Linked DNA regions of Homo sapiens: regions 2, 3, 4, 5 and 6 are each linked to region 1. Evidence: promoter capture Hi-C in 16 types of primary human blood cells and fetal thymus (Javierre and others, 2016). All regions are on one chromosome and are shown on one strand. Each heading gives the region's core, a stretch centred on a gene start or on the middle of the fragment in contact. The rest is flanking DNA. Distances are from core to core; before and after follow the strand shown. Region 1 holds the start of EPRS1 (glutamyl-prolyl-tRNA synthetase 1). Region 2 overlaps BROX (BRO1 domain and CAAX motif containing). Region 3 overlaps AIDA (axin interactor, dorsalization associated). Region 4 overlaps MIA3 (MIA SH3 domain ER export factor 3). Region 5 has its middle 7.4 kb from the start of TAF1A. Region 6 holds the start of GPATCH2 (G-patch domain containing 2).

Region 1 (2,948 bases), core at 231-2,730:
CTTTTAAATGTTTAAAATGGCTATTAAGTTGTGTTTTTGTTCAACAACCTTAAAACATCACCAAAGTTGAGAATATAATGAATAATTTCATCAGCCCCACGTGGTCAACTGTATATAAAGGTATGGGCTTCTTCAACATTAGAAAGTACTGTGTGTGTATTATCATACATATGCATTAACAAATATTAGGTCAGGCTGGGTACTGTGGCTCACGCCTGTAATCCTAGTACTTTGGGAGGCCAAGTCAGGATGGCTTGAGCCCAGGAGTTTGAGACCTGCCTGGGCAACACAGTGAAACGCCATCTTTCCAAAAAAGACACAAACACAAAATTAGCCAGGCATGGTGGCACGCGCCTGTAGTCCCAGCTACTAAGGAGGCTGAGGTGGGAGGATCATCTGAGCCCGGAAGTTCGATGCTGCAGTGAGCCTTGAAAGCGCCACTGCACTCCAGCCTGGACGATAGAGCAAGACCCTGACTCTCAAAAGAAAAAAAAAAATCGGCAAACTACTTAAATTCTTCTGTGTAATTTCCCAAAGTAATGAAAAAGCAGAAATTCTAAGCAATCTACCAACAATAATCTTGGTCATGTCGAAAAAATAATTCCAAACAGAACTTAAGATGTGTCAGTAAGGTGACAGATCCAATGTTTACTCTGAAATTTACTACACATCCACAGGGTGCAGTAAAAGCAACCGCATCAGTCTACAGTGTACCTGGGTGTTTTCCCCAATTACCCTACCACATTTAATTAAAAATAAATGCAGCCTCAGTTGAAATCCTAAATGCTAATATGCTCGTCTGGGTTATTTCTTCTGAACTCGATAAAACGTAAGGAAAATTTGACTCAAGTGAACTGAGGATTTCTCCTGAGAGGAGGGACAGGACAGGAAAGGAGGTAAGAAAAGGAGTTGGGGGAAAAATGCTAAAAGAGAAGCGACGACTATTGGATTTTAAGTTTTAAAATCTTATTTCCACGAGCAACTCTCGCTCTCCGGGGGAAAAAGGGAGAGGTGAGTTGACTGGGAGTTCATCCCTCTGAGAAAAAGATCCGAAGCGGAGTCTCGTGTTGTCTAGCCCGGGCTCACACTGCGCCTCCCTCCATGCCCGGGAAAACCATCTTCAGGAGCAGATGCACCTGCCGGGGACACGGGGCGAGGGGTGCGGAGCCTCCTCCACGTACAATTCTGGGGCGAGGGGCAGGTCCAACATCCCAGATGGTGACCACCACTGCGCAAAGCCGGGGCGCAGCGACCTTCCACGCCCTGCACCCTCCCTGGCTGATGCAACCCACACAGGTCATTGGTCTCGGCCCCTTACCTAGCGGAGGGTCTCCTGAATTCACGGTCAGAGAGAGCGTCGCCATCTCCACCAGTCCGCTGGTCCACCTGTCAGTACGCCTGGCTCGTGCCAGAACTACGGAGGACCCCGCGAAAGGAAGAAGATGCAACGTGTGCGCGTACCCGACGCCGCCGCAGCCTTCGCTCCGCCCCTGCGCCGCAGCTACTGCCGACACCGCGCACGCCGCGGTGCGACATCGTCGCGCGCCGTCTTCGTCCCCGCCCGCAGGTTCCAGAGCCTGCTACCCCTCCTCTTGGCCGCCAGGGTTAGAACGGCCTGCGTGGCCTTTCGTGCTGCGGTGGGAAAGACGCTGAAGTGGACGGGACTTTACGACACTTCGTCAAGTCAGCAGGTCGTAAAACAGCAGGTTGTAAAACCATCTTTAAGATGGGATAGGCGTTTATGTGAAGCACGAAACAAAAGCATGCACTGTCTTTATGTAAAAAGAAAAGTCCTGGAAGCATACACACGATAGCCATGATTACGTTGGGAATGGGAGAAGTTTTTCTCGTTGTTTATTTTATACATTCCCCCCCGTTTTTTTTTTTCCAAAACAAGAACGTATTTTCAAGAGTTATTTGCGTGTTGAAAATAATGGTTAAAGGAAATATAAAAGACTCTTTAAAAATCACTGCAGGCCGGGCGTGGTGGCTCACGCCTGTAATCTCAGCACTTTAGAAGGTGTAGGCGGGCGGATCACCTGAGGTCAGGAGTTCGAGACCAGTCTGGCCAGCATGGTGAAACCCCATCTCTACTAAAAATACAAAAATTAGCCTGGCATGGTGGTGGGCCCCTGTAATCCCAGCTACTTGGGAGGCTGAGGCAGGAGAATCGCTTGAACCTGGGAGGTGGAGGTTGCAGTGAGCCGAGATCGTGCTACTGCATCCAGCCTGGGCGACAGAGTGAGACTCCTTCTCGAAAAGAAAAAAAAAAAAAATCACAGCAGAGGCCGGGCGCGGTGGCTCAGGCCTGTAATCCCAGCACTTTGGGAGGCCGGAGGCGAGCGGATCTCGAGGTCAGGAGTTGGAGACCAGCTTCACCAACATGGTGAAACTGTAGAGACGGGGGTCTCTACTAAAAGTACAAAAATTAGCCGGGAATGGTAGCGCGCACCTTTAATCCTAGCTACTTGGGGAGCTGAGGCAGGAGAATCGCTTGAACCCGGGAGGAGGAGGTTGCGGTGAGCCGAGATCGCGGCACTGCACTCCAGCCTGGGCGACAGACTGAGACCCCGTTTCAAAACAAACAAAAAATCACTGCAGATAGGCGCAGTGGCGCGCTCCTGTAGTCTCAGCTATTAAGAAGGCTGAGGCAGGATCGCCTGAGCCCAGGAAGATGAGGCTGTAGTGGCCTCGCCGTGGACTTGCCTGTGAGTAGCCACTACCCTCCAGCCTGGCCGACACAGGGAGAGACCTGATCTAAAAAACAAAACAAAAAAACCCTCCGATGCCGCCCCCAATCATGGAGTCCACAGGTGTTTTTTTCAGCGTCTCATCTGATTCTCCCTTTCAAATCCTTTGTGACGGACGTGCATGCATGAGCTCCAGAGATACTCCAAGGTGTATACACACATTCGTGTGTGTGAGCTGCACCCATATTTCAAGGGCTG
Region 2 (2,948 bases), core at 271-2,770, 2.7 Mb after region 1:
TAAGAGGATTTTTATTTCATGTTATTTCTGATAGTACAACATTAATTCTTTAATTCATCTTTTCTCTCTACTGTGCTCATTCTTTTTTCTCTTTCACTCGTTGGCTTACCTTAATGTCTTCACCTTTCAATGGCAAGTAATAATGACACTCAACGTGAAACAATTAAGAAACTTTGTAGGCTTTCGTTTTTCTTTATTTCAAACTCTAGTCTTCCTCTGAAAATGGCTGGGCTGGTGGCTTATGCCTGTAATCCCAGCAATTTGGGAGGCCGAGGCAGGAGAATTGCTTGAGCCCAGGAGTTTGAGACCAGCCTGGGCAGTATGGCAAGACCTCCATCTCTACAAAAAGTTATTTAAAAAATTAGCCAGTTGGCTGGGTGTGGTGGTGGCTCACGCCTGTAATCTCAGCACTTTGGGTGGCCGAGGCAGGCAGATCACCTGAGGTTGGGAGTTCGAGACCAGCCTGACCAACATGGAGAAACCCCATCTCCACTAAAACATACAAAATTAGCTGGGCATGGTGGCGTATGCCTGCAATCCCAGCTACTCAGGAGGCTGAGGCAGGAGAATCGCTTGAACCTGGGAGGCGGAGGTTGTGGTGAGCCGAGATCGTGCCATTGCACTCTAGCGTGGTCAACAAGAGTAAAACTCCATCTCAAAAAAAAAAAAAAGAAATTAGCCAGGTGCCATGGCATGCATGTGTAGTCTCAGCCACTCAGGAGACTGAGGCAGCAGGATCACTTGAGCCTGAGAGTTTGAGGCTGCAGTAAGCCATGATCAAGCCACTGCACTCCATCCTGGGTGACAGCAAGACCCTGTCTCAGAAAAAAAGAATTTGCTGTTAGGTCATGCTGTTTTGTAATAGTGATTCTCTATGATTAGCTGGTAATTTGCTGATGATTTATTTAAAGAAATGGCATTGGAACCAACAAACTCAGTGTTTTTTTGTTAATGTTTGCATTTTCTATAAGTTTGCACGTTAAAACGTTTAACAAACTGTATTAAAATCCCAGAGAGATTATCAGACTGTCTTTTGCTATTATAATTGAATTTAGGATGAATAAAGTGAGCTTAATTATAGATTCACTTTATTGTGTTTGGTTACAGTAACAATTGCTCGAGCAATTGAACTAAAACATGCTCCTGGACTAATTGCTGCACTGGCGTATGAAACAGCCAATTTCTATCAAAAAGCTGGTAAGCTTCTAATTCTGTCGTTACATTTTTAGTCTTTAGATTTTCAGATTTATTTGATCTTGAATAGGGAACAAAACAAAAGGGTTCTCAGATTCTGTCATTATTTGCAAAACTGGAGTAATATTTTATTTATTGCATTTAAAATAGAGCTGTTCATGTTTAGTATGCTGCATAACTTCTAATGGAGGGGAAAACCAGTGATGTCTCATAAAATTATACAGCTTTTTTGCTTAAAATTTTTTTTTAGTGTTTATAACAACCTTATAGTTACTATGCTTTAGACAAGAATCCAAAATCCAGAGAGTTAACATGACCCATAATTCAACTGCTAGAAAGTGGGAGATTGGGCGTAGAACACAGCTCCTGTGATAAGCCTATTACTCTTCATTTACTTATTTAGGAAACATGCATGTGTTTTTATTTATGGGATAGTTACTGTTTTTGTTGCTAAGGAGAGGTAAATAGAAAAGATCTGCAGTTTAGGGAAGAAGACAAACATGTAACCCCGTTATTATATCCTGAAGTAAGACATCACAGCGGCGAATTAGGAACCTTAACAAGCTGGGCATGCTAAAGAAGGACTCTAGAAGAAGATGCTTTAGCCTTATTGTGAAGTGTAAATAAAAGTCTTATGTTCCCTAGGAAGCTTTAGAGTTTGGGTGTAGAATTCTATAGTAAGTACAGACATAAGAAAGAACTTAGCACATTCTGGAAACTTCAGACAGTGACCTGAAACACAGGATGAGTGGTAGGAGAAGAGTTTGAAAAAGTATGCATGCTTGGAATCAAACACTGGTTTGTAAGCCATTCTGTAGATACTTGGGAATGTATCTACATTAAAAGCCTGACTTGATTGGATTTGAATTTAAGAAAGGTCCCTATAGTTGCAGTATTAGAGATAGGCTTGCTACATGAAGGAGTAATAGGCTAACTTAACTTAGCACTTAAGAAATTCTTAAAGTTTATGAAGGAAATGATGAAAGCTTTGGCAAATACAGCAACGTAGCAAATAGGAAAAAATAGATTTGAGAGATGTTTGGTAGAAGGATATGTGAGTGAATGTGTGTGTGTTTCACATAAAATTCAGTGATGGGGGTAGAGAGGAGAGTATCCTATTTCTGATTTGAGTGACTAGACTACTATTTGTTTTGCTATATTATATAAGTTTTTTAAATTAGCTAATATAACGGTATAAACAGTATTCACCTTGAAGTTCTTGGTCACAATCTGTTTTTATCATTATCTTTAACTTAAAGTTGTATTAACCATCAAATCAAAGAGCTGCCATAGTATTTAACCAATCTTATGTAACTTAAAGTATAGATTTGGTAAAATCAAGTAAAGGTGTTTTTAAAAAAAAATTAAATTCTTGAGTTTTAGACTTGAATGGCATTCTTTCTGCTTTTATCATCAGAACACATGAACTAAAAGTCTTCTAGTGAATCAGGGCGAAATTATATTTTGCTTTTTAAAATGTAACTTTAGATCATACTTTATCCAGTTTGGAGCCTGCATATTCTGCCAAATGGAGAAAATATCTTCACTTGAAGATGTGTTTCTACACAGCTTATGTAAGTATTCACAACGCTAAAAACAATGTAAATTATTGTTTCTCCAGCCCTTGGAGTGCCAGGTCTCTCATCTCACCAGAGTCTTTCATTAGCATTTTACAAATAATGGACAGCTAACTCTCAGTAAATGTTCACTGAGAGTCAGTGCAACCATTGTGAACTAAAGTGGGTGGAAAGAGA
Region 3 (2,948 bases), core at 307-2,806, 2.6 Mb after region 1:
CACCAACAAAAAAGCTGAAAACTGTATCAGTTACTAGGAGTATCTTCCCTTTGTATTGTAATAGAAGAATTAAACAGTATTTTCTTAGGTATCAATGTTTTGAAAAGGAAATGTTTGTTCTGGCATAATAACCTTTCATTATTTTGTTTTTACAAATGTAGAGTGTATCAAATATTTAATATATGTGGATAATGTTGGAAGGAAAAACAATCCTTTCTTATTTTCTGTAGGATAGGTTTCCATTTTCACCAATTATAGAATAACAGGGATTCCAATGTCCTTTAAAAACAGGATTTACCTTAAACTTTACATAGGGTTTTCCTTCCACTAGTACTACTAATTATACTTTAGGAGGATGCGGAGAAGGGGAGAGGTGAGTTTATAATTTCACAGAAGGTATTAAATGAACACAAAGTACATCATGGGTTGGGGACTCACTGGCTCATTCAGTAGACTCTACACACTGAGGACCTCTGAATGGCAGACGTGGGGATGTACCCTACTAGTAAAAACTCTGCACTCCTAGCCTGCTCTCACGGAGCACAGACCTGCCACCCTCCTGAAGCTTACACTCTAGAAATGACACACACACAAATATCAACATGTGTTCTCTTTGCCACTGACTTGTTTCATTTTTGTGGTAGGCAAAATGGGTAACTGTTCCCATCTGAAAGATTATTTTTTAATTATGAGAAGTTTCCCTGAAGACATTCAATTCTATTCAATGTAACAAAATTTGCCATGCCCATATTACATACAAAGCACTGAATCAGGCTCTGTGGGAAAAATACAAAGGTTATTCACAATCTCTTTGAGGAGTGAAATGAATACAGGGCAAACAATGAAGATGGATATAAAAAGTGTTACTATAAAAGATAGGAAGCCGAGTTTAATATGGCTAGGGGAACAGAGAAAGATGGGACATCTGAGGGACTTTGAAGGATGAATTTATGGAAGGGAATTTTACAGGGTCATGAAGAGATATGTTTGAGTAAGAAGTAGTATGTGACTGAGGATTATTATAAGCAAATTAAATGTATTTTCACCATCAGTATGAATTTCAGACATGATTTTCAAGAGATTTTTTAAAACTGAAGAATACATCAGCAAAACAACCAACCTAGTCCAACATACTGCAAGTTATAGTCATTAATTTTCCTTAGAAGTGGCTACTAAGGGCTGAAGTGAAACAGAGCAAATCATTTCAGCTTTGTTCAACTATAAAGTGAGAGAACTCAACTATATGACTCTTAAAACTCCTTTCTGTTCTAAAATGCTATGATTTTATGATTCCCTACTTAGATATTTGACTTAGATGGATAAATAGACTCTATATACATAATAATGTTAAGATGTGCAGTCTTGTCTCAATGAAAAATGAGAATATTGATTTATATTCATTTAGTTTTATATTCAACTCTTGTGCATTTGCCCATATTGCAAAGAACATTCATCTAAACCAGCAAAAAAGCTTTATTTGGCAGCATACTAACCATCAAAACATTTGAAGAAATTATTTACTTCAAAAGAGTTTTAAGGAGAAAGGAAAATGAAGACAACAAAAAAAATATTTTGCAGAGCAGCTCCAACAGCTGGACTGTAGTTTTCAATGACATGTAGTGTAAATGGGAATCAATGACTAAAGCTTTATATTCTCCAATAGATGCTGCTGCAAATGTTTACCAAAGTAATTGTGGTTTTATTAAAGTGAGTAAGACAAAATAAAGGCTAATACATATTTAGATGAGGTACAACCTCATATATTCTACAACGAAGGTAAAATCCAAAAAATAATTACTACAAATGTTACAGAAGTAACAAAAGCACCCAAAAAATCACATAGGACTAGATATTAACAGAAATAAATCAAATCATAATCTTTGTTAAATAGCCTTAACATCTACAATAGATTATTTTTCCAAAGGAGTATCACAAAAAAATATAAACTTAAACTTACTTGGTTCTAGCTTCTTCAGGTCCTCCAGTTTAAATTCTTCTTGAGACTGTGTGGACTAAATTTAAAATAAGCATATTACATCTTTTCACTACAAGGATTTCACTGCACCCTGTCTTTTAAGTGGCAAGAACCAAATATTCAAAAGGATTCTATTTCTTGCTTTCAAGGTAGAAAATGAAAAGTCCCAAACTGGTTTTTGTTTATTTTTGGAACACTCAGGCCAAAAATAACAGAAAAAATTGAAGTCATATCTTTTATTTTACAATTTACGAAATATGAACTAAAAAAGTATGAATTTAATAGATGTTGTTATAAAACACTTCTGAGACAATACTGCTTTTGACATAAATGTCTAATGTTTTATCACAATAATGCAGAATAATTTATTTTCCTTGTATTACAGAAGAGAAAAACTCCTTACCTGTAAAGCTGCACTTCGCAATTCCAAGCATGTTGCAATTTTGCCTATGGTTTTCTGCAGGGGAATAAAAAAAGCTATAAATACCAGAATTATCATAACTGTTAGTTCAAATCATCAAGTTAATTTTTATTAATAAAAGATCCATAATTCTCTTAAGTAAGTTAAATTTTATTTCTTTCTAGCATCTTTCAGACTCTAGAGAAAAGAAATAAGAGGCAAAGGGTTGGGATGAGGGAGAGAAGGTGAGTATATATTCTCCCCTGACCTAATGTGCCACAACTAATTCTAAATCAAGTTTGCTTTGATGACAGCTGTAGATATGATTTAAAGGGCTGCCTGGTATCTTCTGTTCCAAGCTTCACCTTTTCTTCTCCATAAAGCCTAAAATTCACCTTTTAAAAGGCTTAAAAATATCTGAAAGTTAGCACAATGGTATAATTAATTTAATTCTGACTTAAGTCCAACACCAACTTGTTTAATATATAGGCAACACTAAGCAAAACTGGTATTTGTGATAAACGGTAGTAAATTTTATAGTTGGATCTGTTTCATATAACATGAGCTATAAAA
Region 4 (2,948 bases), core at 263-2,762, 2.6 Mb after region 1:
GCATCTGTAATTAGTATAAATTTGTCTTTCTTTCTTTCTGCTTTGTTTCTCATAAGCTGCATTTTTCTTTCCTTTCTAACCAGTAGTCAAAAACTGTTGCCTGTAACTCACTTAAGGGGGAGCAGTGTACTGGTACTGACGGTCGCTGCTGTGGGAGTGCTTCTCTTTTGAAGATCTGGCCATGCCTTGTCTGTGGCTCCGCCACTTGTTTCACTTTCCTTTCTTTGTGGTCAATTATGTAATTTCCTTTAAACAGTCTGAGGGATTTGTATGACGTGTTTTAGTAGAATAAAAACTTCAAAAAAGGAAAATTTACTTATTGAAGGTACATTTAGTTTTGGACTTCACAGAGTAAAATATTCAAACTAAACATAATTGTGGCAAAGATATTAGGAGTTTTGAATGTAGAACTATTTGGTGTGTATATTTAGATAATAATCCTCTGAAATACATATCTCAAATTTCGAGCGAGGTACCTTTTGAGAGGTATATTTTTATAGTTCAAGTTTTTTGTCCACAAAAACATCTGAATTCTCTAAAAATAGGTTATCTGTGGCAGTTGCTATTTGTGTTTGCTCTTATGTTTTACTCTTTGGTGTATATGGCAGTGTGTGAGGAGGCCTCTCTTGCTAAGCAAATTTAACTTTTTTAAATGCTTAGACTGCTACTGCTGTATGCCATTAAATATTGAAACCATACCATTAACTTTTTCTCTAATTCTTTGCTCACCAGGCAGCCAGTTTAGATTTTCCAGGTTTTGTTCAGGCCAGCTCTAAATAAATGCCTGTCCTGCTTCAGAGAGACATTCCTCATTTCATTACTTTTTAAAAAAGAGCACTTCTCTGCCTCCAATAGTAATGTGAATTACGTAAATGGCAACTGTTTTTCTTCGTGATACAGTTAACCCATTGATGTGGCAGTGTTTTATTCAACTTCCCCAAAATTCATTCAGTCTCCATGTGTGGTTTGTACTCTACTGTCCACCCCTAAAGTCACTGTGTTAATTCAGGCCCTTGTCATCTTTTATGCCAGTCCCCTAGCTAATCACGTATCTCCAGACTTTCTTTCCCTTTTTTTTTTTTTTTTTTTTTTTTGAGACAGAGTCTCACTCTGCCGCCCAGGCTGGAGTGCAGTGGCGTGGTCTCAGCTTACTGCAAGCTCCGCCTCCCAGGTTCATGCCATTCTCCTGCCTCAGTCTCCCGAGTAGCTGGGACTACAGGCGCCCGCCACCATGCCCGGCTAATTTTTTTTGTATTTTTAGTAGAGATGGGGTTTCACCTGTGTTAGCCAGGATGGTCTCAATCTCCTGACCTCGTGATCCACCCGCCTCGGCCTCCCAAAGTGCTGGGATTACAGGTGTGAGCCACCGCGCCCGGCCAAAGAATATACTTTAATGCAGGTTCAGTGAGTTTACTTTTGTATGAAAATGTCTTTAGTTTGACTCCATTTTAAAAGGATCTTTCTGCTGGTTCTGGAATTTCGATAGTTGTTTAGTATCAGCACTTTAAAGATAACCAGTTATCCTCTAGTTTTAAAGTTTCTTTGAGGAATCTATTATCATTCTTATTTTCTCTTTTCTCTTTTTTCAAATGTTTTATGCCTGCCCTAGCTGCCTTTCGTCATTTTCTTTTTGGTTTTTCAGCAGTTTTCTTGGGAGGTGCCTACATGTAGGGTTTTGTCATCACCCTTCCACCCTACCCTCCTGCTTTTTCTTTTGCATTTATACTGCTTGAGGTTATAAACATCTCTTGAGTTTGGAGCCTCTTTTTTCACATATTAATTCTATCTTATTCTCACTTGTCCTGAGAATCCAATTCAACATACTAGGATCTCCCACCCCTACCCCTCGCCCAATGCCTCCTACATTCTGAATATGCTTCATTCTGGATGTTTTCTTCTGACCTATCTTCCAATGTGCTAAAAATCTCACCTCAGTTGTCTAATCTGCTAAAATCATTGAGTTCTTTTTGGTTTCACTATTTTTCACTTTTATAGTTTCTAATCCTCTGCTGAAATGTGTAATCTTGACTTGTACTTCCTTCAATTTGTAAGGCACAATTGCTTTAAAATCTATGTGGTAATCCTATTATGTGGATCCCTTATGAGTGTGTTTCTCTGGTCTTCTAGATTGTGATTACATTGTCTTGTCTTGTGGAATGTCTGGTTGGTTTTGATGGAGTGGTGAACATTGTTTTTGAAAATTGTAGGGGAAATTTGAGGTCTAAGATGATGTTATCATCCTACATAAAAGATATGAGATTACCTCTAGCAGGTGGTCATTACTTTATTCCAGTTAGCAATTAAAATCATTCAAAAATGGCTTAGTTCCTTTAAAGGACATTGTATTTATTGCCTGTTCAATACTCCAAGTGTGCAGCTCTTTTCTGGTCTCAACCCAAAGCCTAGGGCTTTTACTAGGGGTCCTTCTCATTGGCAGCCCTGAACTCCCTCCGCTTCTTGTTTCTCTCAACCCAGGGATCTGTTGAAAGTTCTTTTCAACCTTCTTACATATCTGCATTGTCTTCAATGCATGGATGAACCTGGGGGGAAATGGCTTAAAATGCCGGGCTTACTTATAATTCTGTGTTTTTTCCTACTGGATTTTCTTCACTGCCTTATTAGCTTTCTGATGCCTTCGAGCACATTCTTTCTATTTTTGTCCATATGTTCTTATTTTCAGTGTTTGCAGACTAACTCATCCATTATTGGAAACAAAATTCTCTTGAATCCTTCTTCAAGACTTGTTTTTTCCACATCCCTTCCTAAGCCAGAGTCAGAGAGGGATTGTTCTGTTCTTATATGCACCTTTTACACATTCAGCTGTGAGCTCCATTAGTGCAGAGGTGGTACTTACCATAGCCATACCTTTATCTTAGTCTCTTACAAGGTAATTAGTATAACCACTCATAAAATATTTGCTGAAGTATTTATTGAATGAGCAGTTGTAA
Region 5 (2,948 bases), core at 449-2,948, 2.6 Mb after region 1:
TCTCTCTCTCTCTCTCTCTCTCTCTCTCTCTCTCGGTCTCTCTCTCACACACACAGACACACACACACGCACACACACACACATACACAGAGAGAGAGAGAGCTCAGATATTCTAGCCTACAAAATTTCAGCCATTCCAACAAGCTTGAACTCTGATAATTTCCTCCTCAACTCAGCAAGGCCACCCCTTTACTTAAGTTTCTCCTTCCTGATTATGGAGTTCACCTGTGTGTTTTGCTCTCATGGATCAGTCATGTGCTGCCTGTTTATCAATGCCTGAAAACAGTTGCTTTAAGTAGTTTTTCTAGTTTCTTACTCTTTTGTGACAGGAAGGCAAGTCCAGTACCAGGTAACTCAGTCATGGTTCAAAGTGAACGTACTAACTTCCTTATACACTTTTCCATCATTTGTGATGGAGACACTCATTAAACAGGGCAAATTATAGAGAAACTCTGTAGTGTCTCTTTTAATGTCCATGGAAACCAAAATCAGGTGAAGGAGTAAACCAACATGGGTCTATGAAAAATAAGCTGGCCAAAATTTGTGAGGTAATGTGACTTAAATGATCATATGTTTTACCAATAGTTTTATGAGCATGAAATCCACAATAACTAGAAAAATAAACGTTAATAGATGGACTCAAAACTTTTTACTGCAATTCAATATACAGTCTTTTATGATACTTTAATATATTAGATGATAGTTCTGAAATTATTATAAAATACTAGTGAACATAACAGATTAAAGCATTCTTTCCAACTATTTTGAAAACCATTGTCATTTTCTACAACCCAAAGATTAGATACACCTTAAAATGCCCTAGAAAAGACATTTCTTAAACCTCAACAAAATGAACTTCATTCGTTGTTTTTCACCTTTGACGTGACACCGTGCCAAGATTTCTAGCCCTGTATGGAGGAGACGTTGGTCCCAACAATTAGCAGCTCCTTGATCCCATTTCATACAACCCATTCTAGCAATAAAAAAAGAAAAAATGCACATGTATTCTGCTGACATTTCATTTACAATCTATATCAGGAGTCAGCAAACATTTTCTGTAGATACAGAGAATAAATATTTTAGATTTACCTGTCATACAGTCTTTGTCATAACCACTCTGCTGTTATATAGCATTAAAATAACCACAGACAATATGTAAATGAATGAGCATGTCTGTGTTCTATTGAAACTTTGTTTACAAAAACAGATGTGAGGCTGGATTTAGCTCGTGGGCCATAGTTTGCTAACCATTGCTCTGGAGTACCTATAAATGTTTATGCTCACAATAGAGCATAAACATTTGGTTGTGCTATATATCTAAATATGTATATATATACATATATACATAAATATAATTTTAAAGATACATAGCCATATTGGTGGTGATTTTTGTGTCCAAAAAGAGATTCACTAAAAAAATTACTGATGTCATCATGCATCTCCATCATTATGACAGTCATTAACTCTACATTGCTTCTTCTGCAATCTCTAACATACAATTAGTAGATGTCAATGCTAGAAGTGAGTTTGCTGTTCTGTAGTGAAGGGCACTGATTATAATGGGGTAAATGAGATCAACCATCATGAATTGATACATATTTATTTAATTTCAATTTCAATTGTCATTCTAATGACTATGTACTACGTCTCAACCTATATTCCCTAGGTCCTAATTGAGAAACATGTGCTTTAATTAAAGAAAAAGTCCTTCACATCCATTCCAAATAGGTCAAATTGTATCCATGGTTCAACTATTAATGCACACACACACACTAACAATAGAACTCATTAAGATGTAAATTCGAGGTAAGATAGTGCAGAAGAGGGAATAAATGTGGGAATATGGAAGTAGAACAATATAAGACCCCTTTTGTGTTCTTTTTTTAACTTTTATTTTCGTTTCAGTGGGTACATGCGCAGGTTTGTTATATAGGTAAATTGTGTGTCCCAGAGGTTTGGTGCACAGATTATTTCAACACCCAACTAATAAATAAGCATAGTACCTGATAGGTAATTTTTCAATCCTCATTCTACTTCCACCCTCCACCCTCAAGTAGCCCGTGGTGTTCTTAATTTGTGCCCATGTGTACTCAATGTTTAGCTGCCATTTATGAGTGAGAACATACAGTAATTGGTTTTCTGTTTCTGCATTAGTTAGCTTAGGGTAATGGCCTCCAGCTCTATCCATGTTGCTGCAAAGAACATGATCTCATTCTTTCTTATGGCTGCATAGTATTCCGTGGTCTTCCATGGTATTCCATTTTCTTATCCACCCTACCATTGTATAAGTATTCCCTTTTCTCTGCGACCTCACCAGCATCTTTTATTTTTTGACTTTTTAATAATAGATAGGATCCCTTTTGGAGGTCAGGAAATATAAATTCAGAAGTGTGAGACATCCTTTAAGGTGATGTTAGCTTTAAATGAAAAAAAAATTGTGAAGCAAAGTCACTTGAATCTAGAAAGACTTTTGTGTGAGACATCCTTTAAGGTGATGTTAGCTTTAAATGAAAAAAAAAATTGTGAAGCAAAGTCACTTGAATCTAGAAAGACTTTTGAGTTTCTTTGGGTTTTATTGTTTTTGTTTTTACATTGATGTTATAATCTTTTCCTTTTTGCTGGTAAAAGAAACTACAGAAAACAGAATATTTACAACCACAGGTGCTTTGTTAACTGATCAAATTTTAAGAAAAGTCTCAAGCAGTGCATCTCATACTGGGAGGGTGGTATCATTCCCACCAAGGGGGGTTTGGAAATGCATGGGAGCAATTTTTATTTTGCTATCATGACTAGGGATGCTACGAAAAGTTCATGGCCAGGGCATGGATGTTACACATTTGCACAAATAACATGCTCTGGTCCTTTACCTAACTGTAACTGTGTTTTCCTACAGTTCTGTCTAAAGGGATAAGGGCTTTCCCGAAGTCACATTATTTTCTTATCCATTT
Region 6 (2,948 bases), core at 200-2,699, 2.4 Mb before region 1:
TCTTGTTTTGTGTGGTGTTTACATAAGTATATGCAATTGCCAAAACTAATAAAATTAAGCCTGTAAAAATTGTGCATTTCATTCTATGCTAGTTATACCATTAAAAACTGGTTCATTTAAAAAATGCTCCCTACTTTTCTCACTGGAAAATGTAATAATTTACAAATAGTATAATCAAATCTATATTCACTATAAAATTAACTACAGGATGATCAGGTCCAACTAGAAATATTTTGGATAAGGTATTCTTTTAACTTTTCAGTGATAGGTGATGGAAAAGCAATTATCTGAGATCACAGACTACTAGAATTCCTCATGTTCTAATTTTTGCAGAATCTAGGAATGAACACGCACCATTTAGCCACATTTCTTTCACCTGTTGGTCAGAACTTTATGTTTGAGGATTTTCAATGGGAAATTGCTTGTTTGTGTCACTGGTTGTCTTATGTTATGTTTGGAGGAAAAGGGCTTGGGAGAAAAACAGGACAGATAATACAGAGTGTTCAACTAGAAATCCCCAAATCAGGATTCTAGCTCTAGGATTAAAATGTACAGGGCAACTTTGGACACGGTACTTGAATTTTCTGTGCTTGTGATATTCTGCTATCACAAGGCTGTCATAGGATAAAGTGTATTAATTTGTGGAAATACTTTGAAAAGTCAAAGCAATATATTATTCTAACATGATACCATAGACATAGTCAAGCCCCAAACTTAATCCTGACAGTTATAGGTTCTTGGAAAGCCCCCATACATATCTCACTTTAACTTGAATAGAATGTTCAAGAGGGTGGAAACAGGTAGGTTACCCTCTCTCTTTAAAAAAGGGGGTGAGAGGGTGATGTGTTTTCCACGATTGAACTTCCAGAACTCTAGATTTCTGGAATTTATCTTCCAAAAGACTTGGTATAATCTGGTAAATATTGAAAGAGGAGTGGGGAATAAGGCCCGGATTAAGATAAATTCTTCCTGTCCCTAGTGTTGTCAACAATCAATGAGGAGATGAATTGCTCCTGGAGTACAGGAAGCTTGACTTCTAAAATATTGTTAAACAAGCAATCAGAAAACATTTACTGTATTCTTTCACAAATCTTTGGCACACACCCAAGAGCTCCCTCAAACTGCGTGCATCCCAGGAATGAGTGAGAGCAAGGCCTAGATGTCTTCAGATCATCCATCACAGCTCCCTCCCGCCTCCATTCCAGGTCCAGCGGAGCGGCCTCGGGCAATCACACCCTTCCCTGACCTCCCCCTCCCCAGGGCCGCCAGCCTCACCAGCTGTTCCCGGCTGCTGGAGCTCCGATCGGTTGGCGCCCGGCGGCCCCGAACATTAACGACACCCGGGAGCCTGGCCTCGAAGCTCAGGCCCGTGAACAGACTCCAACTACAACAGCACCGGCGACTTCCAAAGAGCAGTTCAGCATTTTGAGATGAGCTTCCGGAAGCCGACAGGCGGCGGAAACCGGATGCCCGGAGCAACCATTAGTTCTCCGCGTTTACTGCTTTCCCCTTCCTATAATCCCCTCTTCCTACTCGCAGTAGAGACAGAGACAAATAAATTAAACTTTTGTGCTACACAGAAATTTCTTAATTCTCTTTTTAGTGCTCTTAAAGTCAAAGCAGCATGAGAGAAAAGAGGAGTGAACAAAAAGTCGAACCCCGGGAGTGAGCTATGGTTTAGCCCAGTTACCATGGAGACCGGTAGTAACACCAGTTGTAAACCCAAGGCCAAGAGACCATGGCCACGTTAGCCCGGCTGCAAGCTAGGTCGTCGACTGTAGGAAATCAGTACTACTTTAGGAACAGGTAAGTCAGGAAGAGAAGGATCGCGTAAAGGGCGGGCGTGACTTTATACCAGTTGTTCCTCAGCGGGAGTTTCCAATTAACGATTTAACGATTACCCTAATTCATTAAGTAGTACCCAATTCTTCCCTTAATGGGCTGCAAACATAATTGGGAGTTTCTGTTACCATACAACGAAATTCTAAATAGAGAGGGGCCGTAGATATTCAGTGTGAGATGATTTAAGGAAACTCCCAGCATAGATAAAATTGTAAAGTGCTTTTTTTCTTCGACATCACCACTCTGCAATTTGATGAAACCTATGTTCAATACCCTGACTGGGGGTCACCCTGACTCACTAGCCCAATGAACTCAGATTGTGTCCCATCTACCTAGGGATTTGAGCCTCCGTTATTTTACAAACATCACTAAACTCAATTGTTCTATGACTCATTCGCCTTTTTAAAATGAACGTATCTGCCGGGTGTGGTGGCTCACGCCTGTAATCCCAGCACTTTGGGAGGCCGAGGGGGGCGAATCACCTGAGGCCAGGAGTTCTAGACCAACCAGGACAACATGGTGAAACCCCGTCTCTATTAAAAATACAAAAACTAGCCGGGCATGGTGGCACATGCCTGTCATCCCAGCTAGTCCGGAGGCTGAGGCAGGAGAATCGCTTGAACCTGGGAGGCAGAGGTTGCAGTGACCCGACATTGTACCACTGCACTCCAGCCTGGGTGACAAATTAAGACCCTGTCTCAATAAATAAATAAATAAATATAAATAAAATAAAATAAAATGAAAGTGTCTAAACCATTCTGACACGGTAACTAGTACCAATATATTAATTAATAGATAACGGGTAAGAAAACCACTAGCAGTCTTCTTCATCTCCCTACAGCCAAACTTCTTGCCCAGGAAGAGTTTCATTTTAAAGAAGCATTGCCCCAGGAGTTTTTGTAACTTAAAAGAAACTGCAAAAAAGTGAATTAGACTATTATGGAATACAGTGACATGACAGACCAATGGAAAATATGTCAATGAGATAGGGTCTTGCTGAGCTGCTTTTATTCTAACGTTTATCTCACCTACTACATCATTATTTCACAACGTACCTCTCTTACAGCACTGATCACAATTCAATTTTACATTCTTTTATGAGATAA

Evidence for each region. The method cuts DNA at HindIII sites, captures the fragments that hold promoters and counts their contacts. A CHiCAGO score of 5 or more calls a contact.
Region 2: a fragment that was not itself captured here is called in contact with the fragment with the promoter of EPRS1 in region 1 in 1 of 17 cell types (M2 macrophages); the score reaches 6.6 in M2 macrophages.
Region 3: a fragment that was not itself captured here is called in contact with the fragment with the promoter of EPRS1 in region 1 in 1 of 17 cell types (M2 macrophages); the score reaches 10.3 in M2 macrophages.
Region 4: a contact is called between a fragment that was not itself captured here and the fragment with the promoter of EPRS1 in region 1, in 1 of 17 cell types (monocytes). The highest score is 5.9, in monocytes.
Region 5: a contact is called between a fragment that was not itself captured here and the fragment with the promoter of EPRS1 in region 1, in 1 of 17 cell types (neutrophils). The highest score is 5.4, in neutrophils.
Region 6: the fragment with the promoter of GPATCH2 here is called in contact with the fragment with the promoter of EPRS1 in region 1 in 1 of 17 cell types (naive CD8 T cells); the score reaches 6.3 in naive CD8 T cells.

The regions. Positions count from the first base shown.
Region 1 is chr1:220,045,025-220,047,972 of GRCh38, forward strand. It overlaps EPRS1 (glutamyl-prolyl-tRNA synthetase 1), which reads right to left and starts at 1,481. Exons shown (of 32, transcript NM_004446.3): 1 at 1,319-1,481. The coding sequence starts at 1,364. RefSeq lists enhancers at 634-1,191, 1,233-1,562, 1,623-1,692. The HindIII fragment of the contact is 10,455 bases long and covers 1-2,948 here.
Region 2 is chr1:222,726,061-222,729,008 of GRCh38, forward strand. BROX (BRO1 domain and CAAX motif containing) reads left to right here. Exons shown (of 13, transcript NM_144695.4): 8 at 1,108-1,197; 9 at 2,683-2,768. Among named protein-coding and RNA genes, the nearest start is that of FAM177B, 9.7 kb to the right of the region's middle. The HindIII fragment of the contact is 641 bases long and covers 1,201-1,841 here.
Region 3 is chr1:222,691,832-222,694,779 of GRCh38, forward strand. AIDA (axin interactor, dorsalization associated) reads right to left here. Exons shown (of 10, transcript NM_022831.4): 3 at 2,379-2,432; 4 at 1,958-2,012. Among named protein-coding and RNA genes, the nearest start is that of AIDA, 19 kb to the right of the region's middle. RefSeq lists an enhancer at 2,661-2,830. The HindIII fragment of the contact is 174 bases long and covers 1,470-1,643 here.
Region 4 is chr1:222,654,894-222,657,841 of GRCh38, forward strand. The region is part of intron 18 of MIA3 (MIA SH3 domain ER export factor 3); the gene reads left to right. Among named protein-coding and RNA genes, the nearest start is that of MIA3, 38 kb to the left of the region's middle. RefSeq lists an enhancer at 79-318. The HindIII fragment of the contact is 3,961 bases long and covers 1-2,948 here.
Region 5 is chr1:222,595,877-222,598,824 of GRCh38, forward strand. No RefSeq gene overlaps it. Among named protein-coding and RNA genes, the nearest start is that of TAF1A, 7.4 kb to the left of the region's middle. The HindIII fragment of the contact is 3,112 bases long and covers 143-2,948 here.
Region 6 is chr1:217,629,641-217,632,588 of GRCh38, forward strand. GPATCH2 (G-patch domain containing 2) reads right to left here and starts at 1,450. Exons shown (of 10, transcript NM_018040.5): 1 at 1,276-1,450. The coding sequence starts at 1,331. It overlaps SPATA17 (spermatogenesis associated 17), which reads left to right and starts at 1,704. Exons shown (of 11, transcript NM_138796.4): 1 at 1,704-1,806. The coding sequence starts at 1,739. RefSeq lists enhancers at 1,389-1,458, 1,489-1,728. The HindIII fragment of the contact is 9,292 bases long and covers 1,027-2,948 here.